Linked DNA regions of Homo sapiens: region 1 is linked to region 2. Evidence: promoter capture Hi-C in human tissues and cell types (Jung and others, 2019). All regions are on one chromosome and are shown on one strand. The core of a region is centred on a gene start or on the middle of the fragment in contact, and the rest is flanking DNA. Distances in the headings are between cores, read along the strand shown. Region 1 has its middle 15 kb from the start of L3MBTL3. Region 2 holds the start of TMEM244 (transmembrane protein 244).

Region 1 (5,788 bases), core at 1,735-4,234, 140 kb before region 2:
CTTATCCGTGGGATAAGGAACAAGGGTGGATGTAGGCAGATTATTTCAAAGCTCACTCCTCAAAATTCCTCAGTGATACCCTCACGGTCACCCTTGTGCCTATTATCCCTAAGGCCTGATGGTTTAGCTTTTCCTTCAATTCCGTGACATGTCTAATTTTGCTTTTTTTTTCTCTATCTAACATTAGCTAGAATCAGTTTCTTATAAACTATACATCTTCCCAATAAGGCAGTATATAGTTTTCTATCACTATGCAGCAAATTACCACAAAGGTAGCTACTTAATGCACATTTATGATCTTACAGCTTCTACGGGTCCGGGCTCTGGGCATAGCTAAGCTGGGCCCTCTGCTCAGGGCCTCACAAAGTTGCAATCTAGGTGTCAGCCAGGTCTCCTCAGAGGTTTGGAGCCCTCCTGGATGGCGTGAGAAAACCCAAGGTTGTCCCTGAATAAGTGCATTTTCTAGAAGACACAAGATCAATCCCAAAGGGAGGATCATAAATGGTAAAAGAGTAAAGGAGTTCGCAGAAGAGGCTATAATAAAATCTTACCAAAATGAGAGGGTGAGAGACGAAGTCTTCTCAAAGGAAGTGAATAGGATTCTGCTTTACAGAAAAGTGAGGAGTTGCCAGGGAACACAGAAGAAGTTTCCTGATGCTCTAATTTTTAGTGTTGGGGTCCCCAACCCCCAGTATGTAGCCTGTTAGGAACCGGTGCCCAGCAGGAGGTGAGCAGCAGGCGAGTGAGCCAGCAAAGCTCATCTGCATTTACAGCCACCGCCATTGTTCATATTACTGCCTGAGATCCCCCTCCTGTCAGATCAGCAGTGGCACTGGATTCTCATAAAAGCATGGACCCTATTGTGAACTGCACATGTGAGGGTTCTAGGTTGTATGCTTCTTATGAGAATCTAATGCCTGATGATCTGTCACTGTCTCCCATCACCCCCAGATGGGACCATCTAGTTGCAGGAAAACAAGCTCAGAGCACCCCTGATTCTACATTATGGTGAGTTGTATAATTATTTCATTACATATTACAGTGTAATGATAATAGACATGAAGTGCACAGTAAATGTAATGCACTTGGACCATCCCAAAACCCTCCCCCACTGCCCTCCTGCCCCACAGTCTGTAGAAAACTGTCTTCCGCGAGACTGGTCCCTGGTACCAAAAATGTTGGGCAACTGCTGCTCTCACTTTTTCCTGCTCATTATGAGCTAACACATAAGCTTTTTTATAAATAAGAGATGGTGATAAATTACCCACACCTTCAAATTCCATTTTCTTTGGTTGGCCTAAGAAAGTTTGGAAACCAAGGAAAAGAAATACATTTTGTTCAAACTGTAAATCCCATCTCTACTAAAAATACAAAAATTAGCCAGGTATGGTGGTGTGTGCCCTGTAATACCAGCTACTTGGGAAGCGGAGGTGGGAGGATCACTTGAACCCAGGAGGTGGAGGTTGCAGTAAGCCAGGATCACACCACTGCACTCCTGTACTCCAGCCTGGGCAAAAAAGTGAGACTCTGTCAAACAAAAAAAAAAAGAAAATAGTACCTTAATAGTACCAATAGTACCATCACTGGGCTACAGCGTGTATAAACCAGTTTACTGATCACTACTTTTCTTATGTGATTAATCCTATTGCTTCTTGGAGAATTCATTATTTCTGTTAGGCCAAAGGTGCCATTGATGGCCAATAAGGCAAATAACATCAGGGTCATGGGAGAAGGTAGAGAAAACAGAGGAGAAAATAACATTGTACACTTTATCAAACCATAGTATATCTACACCAGAAATACTATGTGTACTAGTATTACTAGAAATTGTATATGAAACAATAAAACAAATATGTGAAGACAGAGGTACTTAAAGTAGTTGCTAGGAGATTTGGGATTTTTTTTTTCCTTTTTGAGACGGAGTCTCATTCTGTCACCCAGGCTGGAGTGCAATGGTGTGGTCTTGGTTCACTGCAACCTCCGCTTCCCAGGTTTAAGCAATTCTCCCACCTCAGCCTCCCAAGTAGCTGGGACTACAGGTGAGTGCCATCACACCTGGCTAATTTTTGTATTTTTAGTACAGACGGGGTTTCACTATGTTGGCCAGGCTGGTCTCTAACTCCTGACCTCGTGATTCACCCACCTCAGCCTCCCAAAGTGGGATTACAGGTGTGAGCAAACCACACCCGGCCAAGATTTGGGATTTTTAAATTAAAATTATTGAGATTCTTAGAGCCCACATGCTAGCCAAAATTGTCCTCCTATTTTTTATTAATTCAGCAAATATTTATTGAGTACCTACTATATGTCAGGCACTAAAGTAGGTTCTGAGAATAAAGCATTAAATAAGACACATAGCATCATTCTCTTTAGGATGTAAAATGTAGTGGAAATATTGTCAATAAACAGTTATAAGACATCATTATATAACCTATAGTAGATAAGTTACAGAGTCCTATGGGAACATGAAGCAAAAAAAGGTTGTTGCATATCAGGAACCAAGTGAGGTACTCCGGAGGAGATGGCACGTACGTTGATATGTGAAGATAGAATAGGAGCTATGGGATACTCTGCAATGAGCCAAAAGATTGACAAATACCAAAAAAACTTGTGAGGTTTCGCTGGGAGCAGGAAGAGGGGAATTGAGGACTATCATTTTAAAAATTGTTTGAAAATGTTAACATTCTTTTAAAAATTCATCCCTGCACACAAAGATGCTTAATGATCCCATATTTATGAGCTTACAAGCACTTCCCTGCAGCGTCTAAGCAAGAACGCAAGAATCTGTTTTGCTTTTCCTTAACAGTCTTTGCCTGGAATCCATCTCCACTGGCTCTGAAGTCTTGCCTCTGTAATGATGGTCACTGTGAACTCGGGATTTGAAAATGCTGGGACCTCCTGTTCATTAGTGCAGTTAGTGCCAGCTGCTTCAGGCCTTCCAACAAAAGTTGTCAAATTGTTTCAACCATGTACCAGACAAATACCAAAAACTTATGACTTCTCCCAAATCACACTGATATAGAATAATCAACAACACATTTTATCTATTACAATGGACTTTCCAGCTTAATTTTCATTTCAATATTTTCAAGTTTTAATCAGTTAACATTAACTTTTGATTCTAAGCATGTAAACTGCGTATGTGTATACACACTCAGCACTCAACTCTGCTGTATTCAAGTGAACACAGATTATGACACTGATGTAGCCTATTTGTATAGGGCTGTAATACATACCTTACTTTCTTAAAAAAAGTATAAGCTTATACATTGTACAACATATATCGAAATTACATATGCATTTAATCTTTGACTAGCATTTCTACTTTTGTCCTACAGATCTTACCACACATTTGACATGATATGGATACAAAGTTATTCAATGTGGCAGTGTCTGTATAAACAAAATAATTTTAACAAATCATCAGCATGACATTGGCATAAAAATTACATAAATTCTTGCAAAGAGATAAATAATTACATAATTTCTTGCAAAGAGATTTATGTAACCATAAAAAGAATAAGGAATCTCTATATGTCTTGATATGGGTCAATTCTGAAGACGTGTTGTTAAGTTAGGAAGGCAAGGTGGAGCAAGAGTAAATGCAATGTGTTTTGTATAAGAAAAGAATACATAAAGGATATGGGCCTGGTGCGGTGGCTCATGCCTGTAATCCCAGCACTTTGGGAGGCCAAGATGGGCGGATGGCTTGAGGTCAGGAGTTTGAGACGAGCCTGGCCAACATGGCAGAAACCCCATCTCTACTAAAACTACAACAATTAGCCAGGTGTGGTGGTGCACACCTGTAATCCCAGCTACTTGGGAGACTGAGGCAGGAGAATCACTTGTACCCTGGAGGTGGAGGTTGCAGTGAGCTGAGATCACACCACTGCACTCCAGCCTGGGTGACAGAGCGAGACTCTACGTAAAAAAAAAAAATTATATATATATATACACACACACACATATATACACATAAATAATATGGATGTAGCATAGATATGAAGAAAGTTAATATACGCATAGACAAATGGTTGTTGGTCTCAGGACCAGTTTACACCCTAATAGGGAATTCAAATAACTTTTGTTACGTGGGTTATATCGACCAATGTTTACCACATAAGAAGTTAAAATCCTGTAATCCTAGTACTTTGGGAAGCCAAAGCAGGGGCATCATTTGAGCCCAGGACTTTGAGACCAGCCTGGGCAACATAGGGAGACTCTGTCTCTAGAAATAATTTTTTAAAAATTAGCCAGGCATGGTGGCATGTGCCTATGGTCGCAGCTACTGAGGAGGCTGAGGTGAAAGGACTGCTTGAACCCAGGAGGTTGAGGCTGCAGTGAGCTGTGGTCATGCCACCGCACTTCAGCCTGGGCAACAGAGTGAGACCCTATCTCAAAAAAAAAAAAAAAAGACATTAAAACTGAGAAAAAATTTAAATATTTATTTCAGAATGGCAATGATAAACTTATTACATGTTAACACAAATAACATATTTTTATAAAAAATAACTGGGTTTTCCAAAATAAAAAAAAAGTTGAGTGGTATATTGTTATATTTTTGCAAATCACTTGAAGGTCTACCCTAATAGAATACATCTGGATACTTATACCTGCCTTTGCATTCAATTTATTGTGCTATGTTGTCCTGGTTGAAGTATACAAAGAAATATTCATGCAGATATGAGGCTAGGAAACGAAGAAGTATTTTTAGAGCCTTTTCAGATAATTGTGGATATTCTTTGATATTACACAAAACTTGACAACTAGTAGTTTCTCAAAGGTTATAGTATCTGATATATTATCAAATACTTATTCATACTCTGTTACATTAAAATATATTGTTCCCTTCCATTTTGAGTGGTTCTTTTACCTATGCATGATTTTTTAAAGATCTGGAAAAATACTGATCCACTGAATTATATATCTTCCAAATATTAACACATTTTATTCTACAATTTCAAAAAATTGCATATGTTTTATCACTATCAATTACGACAGAAAAGTTTTTAGGTATTGAGAGCTGTTGAGCTCAAAGTGGTAGATAAAAGCTTTCTAAAATTCTAATTTTTACTTAAAAGTTCAAATTTTATCATTTGCAATTCATATTATCATTCATTTCTTTCTTCCAAGTAACAGGCTTATTTTATTCATTTTTGAAAAAATATTTGCCAAACAGTCTCTGACTAACCGTGGTTTGCTTGTCATTCTTTCAAGTAAACATGGTGCTCCTTGAAGTAGAAAAACAGGAAACTATATGTGACTGCAACCGATTAAGGACATCCAAGAATCCCTGATTACCATTGACTTTTCTCCCTCCAATAGTCCCATCTCCATTCCCAAGCAATAAATCTGCACAACAAAGGTAAGCACTTATCACATAGAAGGAGCTGCCCTTTTCCATAAACTGTCATGCTTTCCTGCATCCTTATCTTGGTCTACCTGACTCACCTTGCCCTTCTATTATCTATAGCAACAGTCATAAACTCAGTTGCTCACAGGTTCCCGGCGGGTAATACCAATGAATAAAGCAGGCCATGAAAAAGAAGTGAGTGGCCCTCCATGTGGCTTGCATATTTCTGCTTATGGTAGAGGTAGACAGTAGAAAATATGTCACATTCCTCCTCACTCTATCATAAGAAAAACAAAAAGTTCAGGTGTGATAAGAAATGGGACCTGACATCTGCCCTCTGAGTCAGAAGGATAAGAACAACTGGAGGGGATGCTGGCAAGCTGGAGAGCACAGGCCTGGGTCAAGAGGGGACCTGCTCCTCGGCTCTCCTCAGCA
Region 2 (5,787 bases), core at 2,943-5,442:
GGAGCAGAAGGCATCAGGGGAAATCTCTTATTTCATTCTGGCACTGAGGGCAAAGAAATTTTACTTTTTAATTTCTTGTGGACAAATTGACTTTGTCAACACAGCGTCTTTATTTTTACCACATCATTTAAAATTGTATTTACAGTTTTAAATGAAAAACTTTAGACAAATTAAATTTAGGAGAGTTTATTTGAGGAAAGACTAATTCATGTATTGGGCAGCCCTCAGAACCAGGAGAGGTTCAGAGAGTTCCACCCAACACGGGGAGGCAGTATTAGATAGGAAAAGGAAATGACATACAGAAACAGCTTGATTGGCTACAGCTTAGTATTTGCCTGATATAGACACGCTCTAATTGGTTGGCAGTCTGTGATTGGCCAAAGCTCAGCTGCTGTGATTGGCCGAGGCTCAGCAACTTGTTATAAGAATATGCTCTTAAGTTAGGCTGCAGTTTTTTAATGTGCAGAGGCTGCTTTAGGCCAAATTTAATTTAATTTAGCAAGAGTTCTATTATCAATGCCAATCTGTAGATTCTTATAATTAAATCTGTGTTTGTCCACTACTCCTTTTGTGAATCCAAAAATCTAAAAATCTGTGGAAACTATTTTATTATTTATTATCCTTGGGTGACAGAATAGTACCAGACGTTAATGAATTTGGTGATGAAACCAAATTGACAAAATTATTTAGTTTTTATTCATCCCACTCATGGCAAATATTTATACATTTTGCTGCTCAAACAATGTTTGGATACAGAGGGAAGTTCTAGACTACTTGGACATGGGATATAATATACTATATGGATCCTATTATTTAAATAAAATTCAAAATTTTCTGAAATTAGAAGCCTATCTGGCCCTAACGATTTGCAATTAGTAATTGTGGATCTGAGCTCATTTTCTCCTTTGATTTTATCAAGGAGAAATTCTAAATTATGTGCTACAATCTTGGAAATATTTCTTTAGGACCTTGAAGTTTTTGTGCCTCTATCATGAAGGAAGTAGCTGAGTCCAATTTTAACAAACAAAGGAGAACTCTAGATACAAATTACACAAAGGGACTGAAAATAATTTAAAACATGATGAAATATCAAGGAGAACAATTCAGAACTAAAGAATGTGAAGAGTTTTATGTATTTTATTCTTTATCATAAGTATGTGCTGAATGAATACATGTACACACAATATATATATATACACACACATATACATATAAAATGTACACATGTAAATATTTCATCAGCCTAATGACAGACTTGGAAATCAGAATTGTAGTTGCTAAATGTGTATGTGTATGCCTCATGCCTTATTCTCGCAATAGATCACAGTAGCAGTTCAAAAAATAATGCTTAAATCCAGTGCGGTGTCTCTGATGAAAAAAAAAAAAGATGCTTATTATAGATGTAAATACCCATACACACATAATCTCTACTCATTAGACTATTGGTCATCAAATTTTTTTCCAATGTAATTATAGAAAATTAGTACTTTTCAGTATTTTATCCAATAGAGTGCTGGAGTATTAGTTCCCAATGTATGGTGCCAACTTCCTGAGAGGATAGTTTTTGGGTGGTTATTGTTTACCTGAGTAACTCAGAAGGCATCTGAGTTGTGCACAAAGCAGCCTGTGTTGGGAGTAGAGTGAGTCAGGCACAAATCCTCTGCTTTATGCTGTGCTATGACTCCCAGGAAGTTCCACTTGCCCCCCTTTTTTTTTGAGACGGATTCCCTCATTGTTGCCAGGGCTGGAGTGCAATGGCGCGATCTCGGCTCGCTGCAACCTCTGCCTTCTGGTTTAAACGATTCTCCTGCCTAAGCCTCCTGAGTAGCTGGGATTACAGGTGCCCGCCACCATGCCCAGCTAATTTTTTGTATTTTTAGTAAAGACGGGGTTTCACTATGTTGGCCAGGCTGGTCTCGAAATCCTGACCTTGTGATCCGTCTGCCTCTGACTCCCAAAGTGCGAGGATTACAGGCATGAGCCACCACACCTGGCCTCCGCCTGCCCTCTTTAAGGAGAAATTCTGGGTCATCACTGTTACAAATAGGGCAGGGCATGGGATTTGGACAATCAGCATTTACTGAGGGTCCACCGTGTGCTGAAATCTGAAGACAACACTGGGAGCTGTTACAATGTTACCAGCAGGCAGAAAAGTCTTTTTCTGCAAGAACTCACAATATAAGCAGAGAACAGGGCAACCACACATTAAAAGATTTATCTAAGGTATATTAATAAAAGAGCATTGACAGTGTTATTAATATGCATTATGAATGTCAAATTCAATAACATATTCAGATGAAAACTATCAAGGCCTGGACTTGCTGAAGGCACTCTTTTCACCTTTGCTTTTGGTATGCAGGTAGATATTGCAGAATGTGCTCTTTATAGCGGTTAACAAGATGCTGTAATGGAAAAAGGATTACAGGGCACAGCTAAGTTCCCATCTAAAGTTGGTGCCACAGCAAAGCAATCAATCAACAAAGTGAAGACACCAACCCGCAGAATGGGAAAAAAAATACTCAAACACTACCCATCTGACAAGGGGCTAACAACCAGAATATATAAGGAGCTCAAACAACTGTAGAGGAAAAAATCTAATAATATGATTTAAAAATGATCAAAATATCTGAATAGACATTTCTCAGAACAAGACATACAAATGGCAAACTGGTATGTGAGAAGTGCTCAACATCATCGATCATCAGAGAAAGGCAAATCAAAACTACAAAGAGATATGACTTCACCCCAGTTAAAATGGCTTTTATCCCAAAACAGGCAATAACAAATGCTGGTGAGGATGTGAAGAAAAGGACACCCTCATACACTGCTGGTGGGAATGTAAATTAGTACAGCCACTATGGAGAACAGTTTGGAGGTTCCTCAAAAGAGAAAAATAGGACTGCCATATGATCCAGCAATCCCACTGCTGAGCATATACCCCAAAGAATGGAAATCAGTCTATCGGAGAGGTATCTGCATGCCCATGTATATTGCAGCATGTTTCACAATATCCAAGATTAAGAAACAACCTAAATGTCCATCAACAGACAAGTGGATAAAGAAATGTGGTACAGGTACAGAATAGAATTCAGCCAAAGGAAAGAATGAAATCCTGTCATTTGCAACAATATGGATGGAACTGGAGGTCCTTATGTTAAGTGAAATAAACCAGGCACAGAAAGACAAACTTCATATGTTCCTACTTATTTGTGGGAACTAAAAATGGAAACAATTGAACTCATTGAGATGGAAAGTAAAAGAATGGTTACCAGAAGCTGGGAAGGGTAGTGGGAGAAAAGGGGGAGTGTGGGGATGGTTAATGCATACAAAAAAGAGAGAGAATGTATAAGATCTAGTATTTGATAGCACAACAGAGTGACTATAGTCAATAATAATTTAATTGTACATTTAAAAATAACTAAAAGGGTATAATTGGATTGCTTGTAACACAAAGAATAAATGCTTGAGGTGATGGAAATCCCACTTACCTTGATGTGATCATTACATATTAGATGCCTATATCAAAATATATCATGTACCCCATAAACTCTATGGGGTATATTACTATATTACTATGTAATCACAGCAATTAAAAATTAAAATAAAAATAATAATAGAGTTGGTGCCAGTAAAAAGATGGGAGAATGAATTGTAAATGAAGGATTGGTTCTGGAGCCTCAGGACGCAGAGAGACAGAGCTCCAATACTGCCTCCTGGCAGTTCTTGAAAACATTCTACCCACAATATTGTGGCCATTATTTTAGAGTATGGGAACCCTTTTGTTTCCTAACAAAAAGTCATAAGTTTTACATTTCTTTGCCATGATGTGAAAGGAACTGATGATTTCTTTCTCAGAACTCTGTGGCCCTTGTGAGTGAAACAGAGAGGACAGGCCACGCTTCAACATGAATGCAGCAGCATCCTTTGGAAACAATCTCAAGACCTAACTGAAAACCCATGTTTCTAATTTAAGTATGAGACAGTAATTACTCATACAGCCAGAGAGGATTCCAAGTCCCTGCCTATTTGCCGCACTATCTAAAAACAATCAACTCATCTTTCAAATCTGACCAAACTACAAATGGTATGAGAACTCCATCGTTTAATAAGGATGTTCATTTTGGCACTTAGCAGCTTACGCGTGGCTCACAGATGGCATCTGTCTCGTTTTGCGTAATCCAATCATCCTGCACTACTGCGTCTCACACTTAGTCTCCAGGAGTAATTGAAAAGCTCACGGTGACAATTGTGTCTTCTTCCAGATGTCATCGCTATAAGGAGTGGGGCTTTCATCACCTCCTTGACGTAGGATGTGTACATGGCTCTCCAGGTCAGAGTTGCTCCAAGCAAGGTAAAGAGAAATTACTTCTTTGCATTGCCTTTCAGTTGCTGCCTAGCACTGGTGTAAATGAATATGTTCTATAAATGGCCTCTCTGTCAGTGGGCAACTTGTTTCACTTTTGGCTGGGTACCATACAGAAAACATTCTGCTGCACGGCTTGCATCTTGTGGTAATAGGGCAATATAAAGGCACCCATGCCCAAGAAAGGATTCTAAAACATGTAAATAGTCGCTGTTTAGAAGGCACCATTTTATTCGGAGGTAAGCTCTCTGGTATTAGCACCTGCACGTCTGCTATCGTTTTCTGAAATCATGACAGTTTGTTCTCAATCTTTTTTTCTTTTTTTTTTTTGCAGGGAGTGGCTTTTATTTTTGTAACTTCTAAAGGGTGCGCAAAATTTTAAATGCAAAGTGTTGAAACATTTCAAGCTGTAGGTTTGTTAGTTTCTTTTTCCCCCGAGGCTAGTGTTAATAGTTGTGTTTTACTTCAGTGCAAAAATACCCCTTTAAAAAAAAATCAAACAATCGAAAACAAGGAAATATGCAAAGCCTCAAAGCAGCTGTGTAAATTCATACAGGCTTTAGGCCTATAATGAGCCAGACTTAAGGGAATGATAGTGGAAAATCAGATTTTTACTTAAAAATTAAATTACAATTATGAGTGAGTGCTACATTCATTTTAGTAAAATATCAGCACCGTGTGTATTTCCTCAAGCTTTTTCTTTACACTACCATCATCACCACATATGTCATCAGTGAGAAATGTTGAGCATGACAACAGCTAAGAAAAATTTTCAAGGTCAGTAAAACATTATTTCAGGAAAAATATTTTTAAAAAGCTTATTTTTAAGGGGTTATTAAACTTCGTAATTTATGTATAGATTTGGGATTGAACTAGCAATAATAACTTCTGCTGAAGAGATAAAAATTAGAAGATAAAATCCTTTCTCTTAAGTAGCTTACACAAAGAATGGGGGCTCTATATTTAGTCGGGGCTTACACAGACCAGACAGACAGACACACACACACACACACACACACACACACACACACACACACACGCATTGCAGAGAAAATATCCAGATAGTTGCTGCAGTTCCTCACTATCTTAGAATCATCTGAGCTTCAAGTGTAGAATTAGAGCCTTAGAACATTAGAAGAATAGTGAATATGTTCAAAATAGATAGGTTGTTGACTATCTGAATTCTCATGATACATCCCTATAAGTTATGAGTTAACTTTTCTTTTAAGTGCTTGTTCACTGTCAATATTATCAGCACAAGAATTACTGATATGCTTATAAATTAATAGTAATAGCAAAAGTGACCTTCATCTAGAGATAACTCGAATACTCAACAAACATTTATTGAGTGCATGCAATGTGCCAGGCATTGGGCTAATTAAATCCCCCCTATCTGTACACTTTAAATGACAGAAAAGCTGACT

The links. Contacts are between HindIII fragments. The study calls those that stand out against the background at their distance.
Region 1: a contact is called between a fragment that was not itself captured here and the fragment with the promoter of TMEM244 in region 2, in 1 of the 25 tissues and cell types used here (pancreas).

Annotation. Positions count from the first base shown.
Region 1 is chr6:130,000,932-130,006,719 of GRCh38, reverse strand. No RefSeq gene overlaps it. Among named protein-coding and RNA genes, the nearest start is that of L3MBTL3, 15 kb to the left of the region's middle. RefSeq lists an enhancer at 5,083-5,640. The HindIII fragment of the contact is 7,212 bases long and covers 1-5,788 here.
Region 2 is chr6:129,859,720-129,865,506 of GRCh38, reverse strand. TMEM244 (transmembrane protein 244) reads left to right here and starts at 4,192. Exons shown (of 5, transcript NM_001010876.2): 1 at 4,192-4,351. The coding sequence starts at 4,319. The region is part of intron 2 of LOC105377999 (a long non-coding RNA gene); the gene reads right to left. RefSeq lists a silencer at 1,589-1,883. The HindIII fragment of the contact is 10,214 bases long and covers 1-5,787 here.